Linked DNA regions of Homo sapiens: regions 1 and 3 are each linked to region 2. Evidence: promoter capture Hi-C in 16 types of primary human blood cells and fetal thymus (Javierre and others, 2016). All regions are on one chromosome and are shown on one strand. The core of a region is centred on a gene start or on the middle of the fragment in contact, and the rest is flanking DNA. Distances in the headings are between cores, read along the strand shown.

What was found. Contacts are between HindIII fragments. The CHiCAGO score rates a contact against its expected background, and 5 or more counts as called.
Region 1: a fragment that was not itself captured here is called in contact with the fragment with the promoter of H2BC6-AS1 in region 2 in 2 of 17 cell types (total B cells and naive B cells); the score reaches 5.6 in total B cells.
Region 3: a contact is called between a fragment that was not itself captured here and the fragment with the promoter of H2BC6-AS1 in region 2, in 4 of 17 cell types (non-activated CD4 T cells, fetal thymus, naive CD8 T cells and 1 more). The highest score is 6.0, in non-activated CD4 T cells.

Annotation. Positions count from the first base shown.
Region 1 is chr6:27,078,778-27,081,477 of GRCh38, forward strand. No RefSeq gene overlaps it. Among named protein-coding and RNA genes, the nearest start is that of TRP-CGG2-1, 12 kb to the right of the region's middle. RefSeq lists a silencer at 1-58. The HindIII fragment of the contact is 979 bases long and covers 920-1,898 here.
Region 2 is chr6:26,171,508-26,174,207 of GRCh38, forward strand. It overlaps H2BC6-AS1 (H2BC6 antisense RNA 1), which reads right to left and starts at 1,266. Exons shown (of 3, transcript NR_186648.1): 1 at 528-1,266. RefSeq lists an enhancer at 340-1,232. The HindIII fragment of the contact is 22,011 bases long and covers 1-2,700 here.
Region 3 is chr6:27,125,491-27,128,190 of GRCh38, forward strand. No RefSeq gene overlaps it. Among named protein-coding and RNA genes, the nearest start is that of H2BC11, 6.0 kb to the right of the region's middle. RefSeq lists enhancers at 1,557-1,606, 1,817-1,886. The HindIII fragment of the contact is 5,241 bases long and covers 1-2,700 here.

The DNA of each region.
Region 1 (2,700 bases), core at 159-2,658, 910 kb after region 2:
GGGCTCCCCAGAGAACCTCCGACCCACCTGTGCACTGGGAAAAGGGGGTGGAGCCACGAAGTTAGCGTGGTTTGCAGAGGGGAGGAGCCCAGCCTCTTGTGTTCCTGTGTGGTGGGGCAGGAGCAGGTTAACAGGCCTCCCTCTCACTCTGCTGAAAGTATTTCTTTTTCCTTTTTCGCGCAATAAATTCCATTTTTCTCACCCTTCTATGCATCCTCAAGCCTAATCTTTCCTGGTTATGTGACAAGAACCCGGTTTTTAGCTGAACTAAGGAGAAAGTCCTACAACACTGCCACCATGTGGCAATTACTCCAAATAGAAGGAGAGGCTGAAGGACACACAACCAGGATGCAGAGAAAAAGATGGAGACAGAGTCTGTGCAAGATGGGATTGATACTGAGACTGGGTTAGCCACCTCTCCTAGACAGTGAAACAGATCGCAAGAGAGGCTGACCCAGAAAGACACATGCAAAACAATGGGCAATAGAACACATGACCTGAATTAGATTATCTGGGTTCAAATCCTGATTTTGCTATTCATTATCTGTGTATCACTGGGCAATTTACTCAATCTCTCTGTGCCTGAATATCCTCATTCAAAATCAGGGATGAAAAGAGTACTTATCTCAAAGGGCTATTTGCTCACTTATTGCACAAGTAATTTGGCATCTGATATGAACCAGGTGCACCTCTAGATGAGGATACTGTCACATTGAATGAAGACCAGTGACCAGAAGCCTGCCTCACAGCCCAGCTCAGTGAGAAAAATAATTCCATTCTCACCTCTAATCTCAACCCTGTGTCACCATTTATGTATAGTCCTTTGCATTAGTGTCTGGAAAGGTCATTTTTTGAGGGCAGAATGAATAACCTATAGAAGGATCATTCTTGGGTATAATGAATTAAAGAAGTATTATGAAGCTTTATAAGGCAGGATTAGCTCATAAAAATGGAGGGTTCTTTTGCTTTTCCAGTCCCATTTGTTGTTTCACAGACAAAGAATAAAACAATCACTGATGGCAAAGACTGCAAACTGCCAACGTTCATCGGTAGAGCAAGGTGACGCTCGTCCTGTCCAGGCCTGTGGTTGGGATAAGCTCAGAAAGCAGAGTCTCCAGGGCTGGTCATCATCTATCATAACCCTGCGTATAAAGAAAGCCTTGAGAAAGAAAAGAAGTGACTTATTATGTGTCTTCTGACCTGGTTCTCATTTTTATTCAAAACATTAGAACCTTGGGAAGATGAAGAGAGGGCCAGAAAAATGGGAAACCCTGGATACAGAAACTTGGCTAGCTGTTTACTTTTTCACTGTACATCTTTCTATTGCAATAGTTAAACCCCAATTAAGACTGAAATAACTCCTGAGGCAAACAAACGTAATTGTGGAGACAGAGGGGAAAATGTACTTCAGGGACTAGGATCCTGCAGAGGGTTTCCGTCTTCCTGACAGAAAAACAACTTTGAAAATTTGAGTCCTGGTAATAGTTTGTTAACCAAGAACTCTACAAATCCAGAAGGCACAAACATGGCTTGGGGAGCCTTACCTTGCCAGAAGGACTAACCCAGAGCTTTACTACACCATAGCTACCAAGGTGAGTAGACCTGACAATTCTTTTATTTATTCACATATGCCATATAATATTTCCCTCAGAAGTATGCATCTTGCTTTGTTCTTTGACTAAGCAAGGGAGTTTATGTGAGCCAGAGGACCTTGACTCTGCATCTAATCTTTACCTGGGGTCATAAACATGAAGGGGACCATTTCCAGAAGATGACCCTAGAAATGCTTGAGCATCTTTGTCCCAGTGTTCAGGATCTTGTACTGTAAGAGAGGTCCGGGGTGGTTCTTCCTATAAGGTTCCCTCTTTGGTTTCATCCAAAAATCACAAAGATAAAAAAGCTTTTCAGGTTTCTAGAAAAAACTCATTTTTAGGCTTACATTTTCACCTGCATTATAACTCTATCAGCATTATTAGCTTTCATCAAATTTCTTCATATCGTTTTTGGTGCATTTCTGTGATTTGCAAGTGGGCCAACTTTGTCTTTACCTATTAAGTAGTTAATTCATTAAGAAAGAGATAGAGAGAGTGTGTGTGTATATCTTGAAGGTTTTCTTTCTGCATCCATCCTTAAAGTCTCCTAATCCAATATATAATATTGTATCATATACAGAAGTCAACTTCATTAACCATATGCCAGTTTAATGGAAGCATCTATTAACAATCATTATGATTAAAAATCATACTTGCTCTTCAGAAATTTTCCACTTTTATTTTTGGCCAGGCTATAAGTAAGTATAACCTGATGTAACCCTGTAAATTTACCCTGGCATTATGTAGCAGGGAGCACTAATCTCATTTTCAGTTGAGAAAACTGGAGCTGAAATGGGTGCACTTCCTTACCTGCCTAAGCTATTAGGTATTAGAACTGGATGGAGCACTACACATCTATCTGAATGTGAAGCATGTTTTTTCAAATAGTTTTCAATCATGATTCCAAAAACAACTTGGAAGACCAGTCACCCTTCCTTCCTCTGATATTTTTCTTATTATTCAGTCAAAAAAATGGAAGTGTCTTATTAGTATTACAGAAGCTAATCTCTAATCTGAATCAGAGCTTTGGAACCTTGGGAAGATGAAGAGAGGGCCAGAAAACTGTGAAACCCTAGAAAAAGATAAGAAGAAACAAACATAAAAATAT
Region 2 (2,700 bases), core at 16-2,515:
GGTTAGCTTATGCTAAGCTGCCATTTGAAAGGTCTCCTCCAGCATCTGAATTAAGGGAAACAATGTTTTGAAGCAGTCACAAAACTTTTCTGATGCATTAGATCTGAGGTAGGACCTGATAATTTGTACTTCTAAATTATGCAGGTGATGCTGATGCTGCTGGTCCGGAGACCACTTTGGAGAGTTTTACTTTAAAGGAAATGAAACTGCCCTAAAATGCTAATACTAAATAGCCACACAAAGCCGGAAAAAAGCAAAGAATTTCAAACCGAAGATGAGAGGTCCTGAAAAATAACAGCGGTCATCCTACTCCCGGTGCGGCTATGCGGCCATGAAAAGGAGTCTTGGGGCCGGTCGTGCCCCTCCACGCAGGCTCCCTCATAGGGTCATCCCATCAACCCTCGCCAAAAACGCCGGCCCCCTCATAGGGCCGTCCGGCCACGCCCCTCCGTGCCCTAACCACAGAGCCACACGTTACGCCGCCGCCCCGTTACGCCCATCCGGCTCCCGCATAGGGCGTCACGTACGTTTAACGTCGGCCCGGCGCGCGCGTCCGGGAGGTTGCCCGTAGGCCGCTAACTGGTGGTTCCCAGTCCCCGCCGACTCGGCCTCTTTCTTCTGCGGCCACCAGATCGCGGGATATCGGAGACTTCGAACAATCCGCTGGAGTCCTTTACAGTTTAAAAACAGAGGACCGGCCGGGCGCGGTGGCTCACGCCTGTAATCCCAGCACTTTGGGAGGCCGAGGCGGGCGGATCACGAGTTCAGGAGATAGAGACCATCCTGGCTAACACCGTGAGACCCCGTCCCTATCAAAAGTACAAAAAAATTAGCCGGGTGTGGTGGCACGCGCCTGTAGTCCCAGCTACTCAGGAGGCTGAGGCAGAAGAATCGCTAGAACCAGGGAGGCGGAGGTTGCAGTGACCGAGATCGCGCCGCTGCACTCCAGCCTAGGCGACAGAGCGAGACTGCGTCTCAAAACAAAAAAAACGGAGGATCGAAAATTTTGAAGACTGAGAGCAAGGCAACAATCTTCCCTTGACCTTTTTGCTCCTCTCACAAGGGTTTTTCAGACGGCTGAAACCAACGAAAAGAGTGAGGAAGCAGGCAGAAAATTTCAGCTTTAGTCTCTCAGCATCCTCCTGCTTTCTTCTCGGGGAGCTGGCACTTCCCCCTTCTCTAGTAGCTGTAAATACGCCTCCCAACTCCAAGGAGACCTTTCTTGCATCTCCCTTACTGTTCTCACGCCTGTAGGGCTCTTCGTGTGAGGATTCAGTGTATGTATGTATGTATATGAATGTGTGCGAATAATTATTTCCTAATTGAGTTTTTTTTTAAAAAAATCATCTTCCGGTACACGCAGTGCCGTACTCCATTAAACAGCAGGCACGGTGTCTAGGGTCCGCAGTTCTTTTGGAGGCTCATGAAAATATTTTAATTTCTTCTAAAGTCAGAAGGAAAAAAATGAACATTTAAGTCGAAGAAGATGTTACATATTAATCTTCATATGACTTTAATTTTTTTTTTTTTTTTTTTGAAACGGAGTCTCGCTCTGTCCCCCAGGCTGGAGTACAGTGGCGCAGTCTCGGCTCACTGCAAGCTCTGCCTCCCGGGTTCACGCCATTCTCCTGCCTCAGCTTCCCGAGTAGCTGGGACTACAGTCACCACGCCCGACTAAGTTTTTTTGTATTTTTTAGTAGAGACGGGGTTTCACCGTGTTAGCCAGGATGGTCTCGATCTCCTGACCTCGTGATCCGCCCGCCTCGGCCTCCCAAAGTGCTGGGATTACAGGCGTGAGCCACAACGCCTGGCCTATGCCCACTAATTCCAATTCTTATTTGATCTAATTGTTTATAGATTCTTGTGAACTTTTACCTTGACAATTATGTTATTTTCAAAGATAATCATCTTTTCCTATTGAATCCTTGCTCTTCTGACTGCCTGTTCCTATCTCATGGTATTGGCCAAACCCTGTGATGCCGTGTTGAATAGGAGTACTTTCTCACCACACTTGTCTTCCTTCCGCCTCTATGGGAATCCTTCCAAAACGGCACCATTAAGTGTTATACTCGCTGTAGCTCCTCCTTATGAAGTTCTCTTCTCATTGTAGTCTGTTAAGTGTTTATGATTAAAGAGTGTTATATTTTGTTAAATGCTTTCGCAGTATCTTTGGAGATGATCATGTTTTTTCTTTATTAATCTCTTTTTTATTTTATTTATTTTATTTTATTTTATTTTATTTTTTATTATTTTAGTTTTTATTTTGAGATGGAATCTCACTCTGTCTCCCAGGCTGGAGTGCAGTGCCCTGATCTAAGCTCATTACAACCTCTACCTCCCAGGTTCAAGCGATTCTTCTGCCTCACTTTCCCAAGTAACAGGGACTACAGGTGCGTGCCACCACATCTGGCTAAGTTTTGTATTATCAGAAGAAGATAGGCCGCCATTGGCCAGGCTGGCCTTGAACTCCTGACATTAAGTGATCCACCTGCCTCAGCCTCCTAAAGTGCTAGGAATACAGGCGTGAGCCACTGCTCTGGGCCTTCCTTTATTAATTTCTTAAACTGGCAGATTTAGAATACTAAACTTCCTTCTATTCTTAGAATAAACCCTATATAATCAGCTATTTATTTAAATAACATGGTCTCTGCAATTTCTCCTGGTTTCCATTTTTTCTCATAATAGGCATTTTTTTCTAAA
Region 3 (2,700 bases), core at 152-2,651, 950 kb after region 2:
TACATAAATTCTTACAAGCCAATGTTTCTCTTCTAGGAGAAATGGAAACTCAGAAATCAGTGCTCTCAAAGAAGGGAAATTAGGTATGATTTCTTGGGAGCCACAACCCAACAAGGCTTTCCAAATAATACAGTCCTGAATTTGAGCCTCAGAGAAGGCAGGTATATTTTCAAGTCATGCACTGTATCAATTGCCTTTTTTTGGTACATAAAAGAAAATACTGTATATGCTAATAATCATTAACAAAAAAACATTCAGGTAAAAAGAAAAAATCTGAGTTTTAACAAAACTGAAAAACACTCAGAAGAGGACTATATGGAATGACAATTTGTTTTTCATCTTCTGGATCATCCCCTGAGGAAAGTAAAGAAATTTCCCTCAGGATATTCCAGTTGGCAACAGCAGAGCAGAGGAATATTACTTTATTCATTTATTCAGAGAAGTACTTTGCTGGGCACTGTTCTAGAAGCTGGGAAATACAAGTGATCAAAATATAACCTACCCCACAACTCCCAAATCCAGCTCGAAAAAACTTTTAGTGTGGAGGATGGGATAGTAAAGATAATAAGCCAATGAATAAGGAAAACATAGCATTTCAGATCTTTATATTATGATAAAAAAAAAAAAGTCCTAAATTGGAACAGGAAACACAGATGGGGTGGCTCAATTACAAGACAGCAGTTAAAGAAGGCCTCACTGACAAGATGAGTTCCCAGTGTCAGGACCCCAATATCCTTCCTTACAAAGAGTGGGGATCCCACCCTAGAAAAGGAATAGCAGTTCAGCCACCCCACAGCAGCTCTGGCATGGCTGTTTCTGGATACCTTCATGGAGAAATGCACACACTGCCCTTCATTTCAAAGATGAGCATCAGTCTCGTCTTCAGAGAAGATGCAGCCATTGTGGGGTTAGGGTTTCTCTCCTCAGGTCACTAGTGTAGATGCGCCTGCTGAGAAGTTTCAGCCACTCCACCTGCAATAAGAAAGACAGTTAATGAGAAAAGCAAGAGACAGAACCTGTGAAGAACATGTGACCATCAGTCATTTGAATGAAAGGGGGCAAATGTGAATGAAAGGGGACACATTTGTTTATTTGTGTTTGTATAAAGATATTCCAGACAGGTACACAGGAAACGAATAAAAGTGGTTAATTGTAGTATATCAAAGATAAAACACCAGGCCTTACTTTAAATGACGAAAACAGATTTTATTTAGTAACCACTGACAGTGGGGAACCATCTGGGTTTCATAACTGGCACATATCAAAATCAGGCTCCACTCCTACCAGAGCCTGGGAGACGAGGGCCCTATCTTCAGACGTTGACTGAAACAAACAGTAAATTCCTTTGGCGGCATCAATTGAGTTTTCTCAGGCAGGCACTTGAGAAGACCGGGGCTATTAGTAACTATGTTCGGGTTTGTTCAGGTCTTTATAGACCAAGGTGGCCACCTAGTCCAGAAGAGGGCTCAGAAGAAGCCGCCTAGAGTTTGGTCAAAAAGAGAATCTTTGCCAAGTAGATGGGGGAACTGGGCGGCTGGGGGCTGTTGGGGATGTGATGGTTTATAGTATTTCTTGTATATTCAATTATTAAACCGTAGCAATGAAATGCCTAATCGAAATCATAAAACGAAACAAAGTTTTGGCTACATTAGCCTATCCGTTATTGCCATAAGATGGCGACAGCCCTTCTCAACTCATAAAACTAAACAAAGTTTTAGCTACATTATCCCATCCATTATCGCCACAAGATGGCGATAGCGCTTCTCAACTCGCCTGCGGGACGGAGGCAGGGTGCGGCCCGGAGAACTCCTCCCTGTTCCAACAGCAGCTCTCCAGCCCGCAGCGCTTCCTGACGTTCCGTTAGTTCAGTCTCCTGAACTTCTCTGCATGTAGATTCCTCTCAGGGTAGCCCTTTGTTGACCAAAAACGAAATATGTTCACTGATTTGGCCAGCTTTTTTTTTTTTAACTTTTTTTTTGGAGGGGAAAGGGAGTGGTCATGGACATCCTGAAGCAGACACAAAAATATAGAGAATCCTGCACTTCCCAAGTCTCGTCGCACAGGCTTCAACAATTACCAACATCTTGCCCATTTTGTTTCATTATCCGCACCCACACTGACAGATGAGGGAGTCTAAAAAATATCTGAAACATGAAATCCCAAATATGTGATTTTAATCATGAATATTTTCACAAATATCCTAACAGATATGGATATAAAGAAAAAACGCTAAGATTTTACACCTAAGAAAATTTAAAAAATGATGTGTAACATTATCCAATACCTAGCCCTTAAAGAAAGAAAATCCTGAATTGTCTCAAATATTTTTATATTTTGTCTGAATGAGATCCCACCAGATCCAAATATGGCATTTGATTGCTGTTCCTCTTGAATGTATTAAAATCCATAGATTTACCCAAGTCTCCAAGTAGCCTGACTGCCCTTTGAAAAAGGAATTGAGACCATAATCTGGGTGGGAATTCTCACTGATCATGGATTGTCATTGCTTTTAAACCATTCTTTGAAAAGTGTTGGGGAAAAAATATTTTGTTTTCTTTCTTTTTTTTTTTTTTTTTTTTTTGAGACAGAGTCTCTCTCTGTTGCCCAGGCTGGAGTGCAGTAGCACGATTTCAGCTCATTGCAACCTCTGCCTTGCGAGTTCAAGTGATTTTCCTGCCTCAGGCTCCCAAGTAGCTGGGA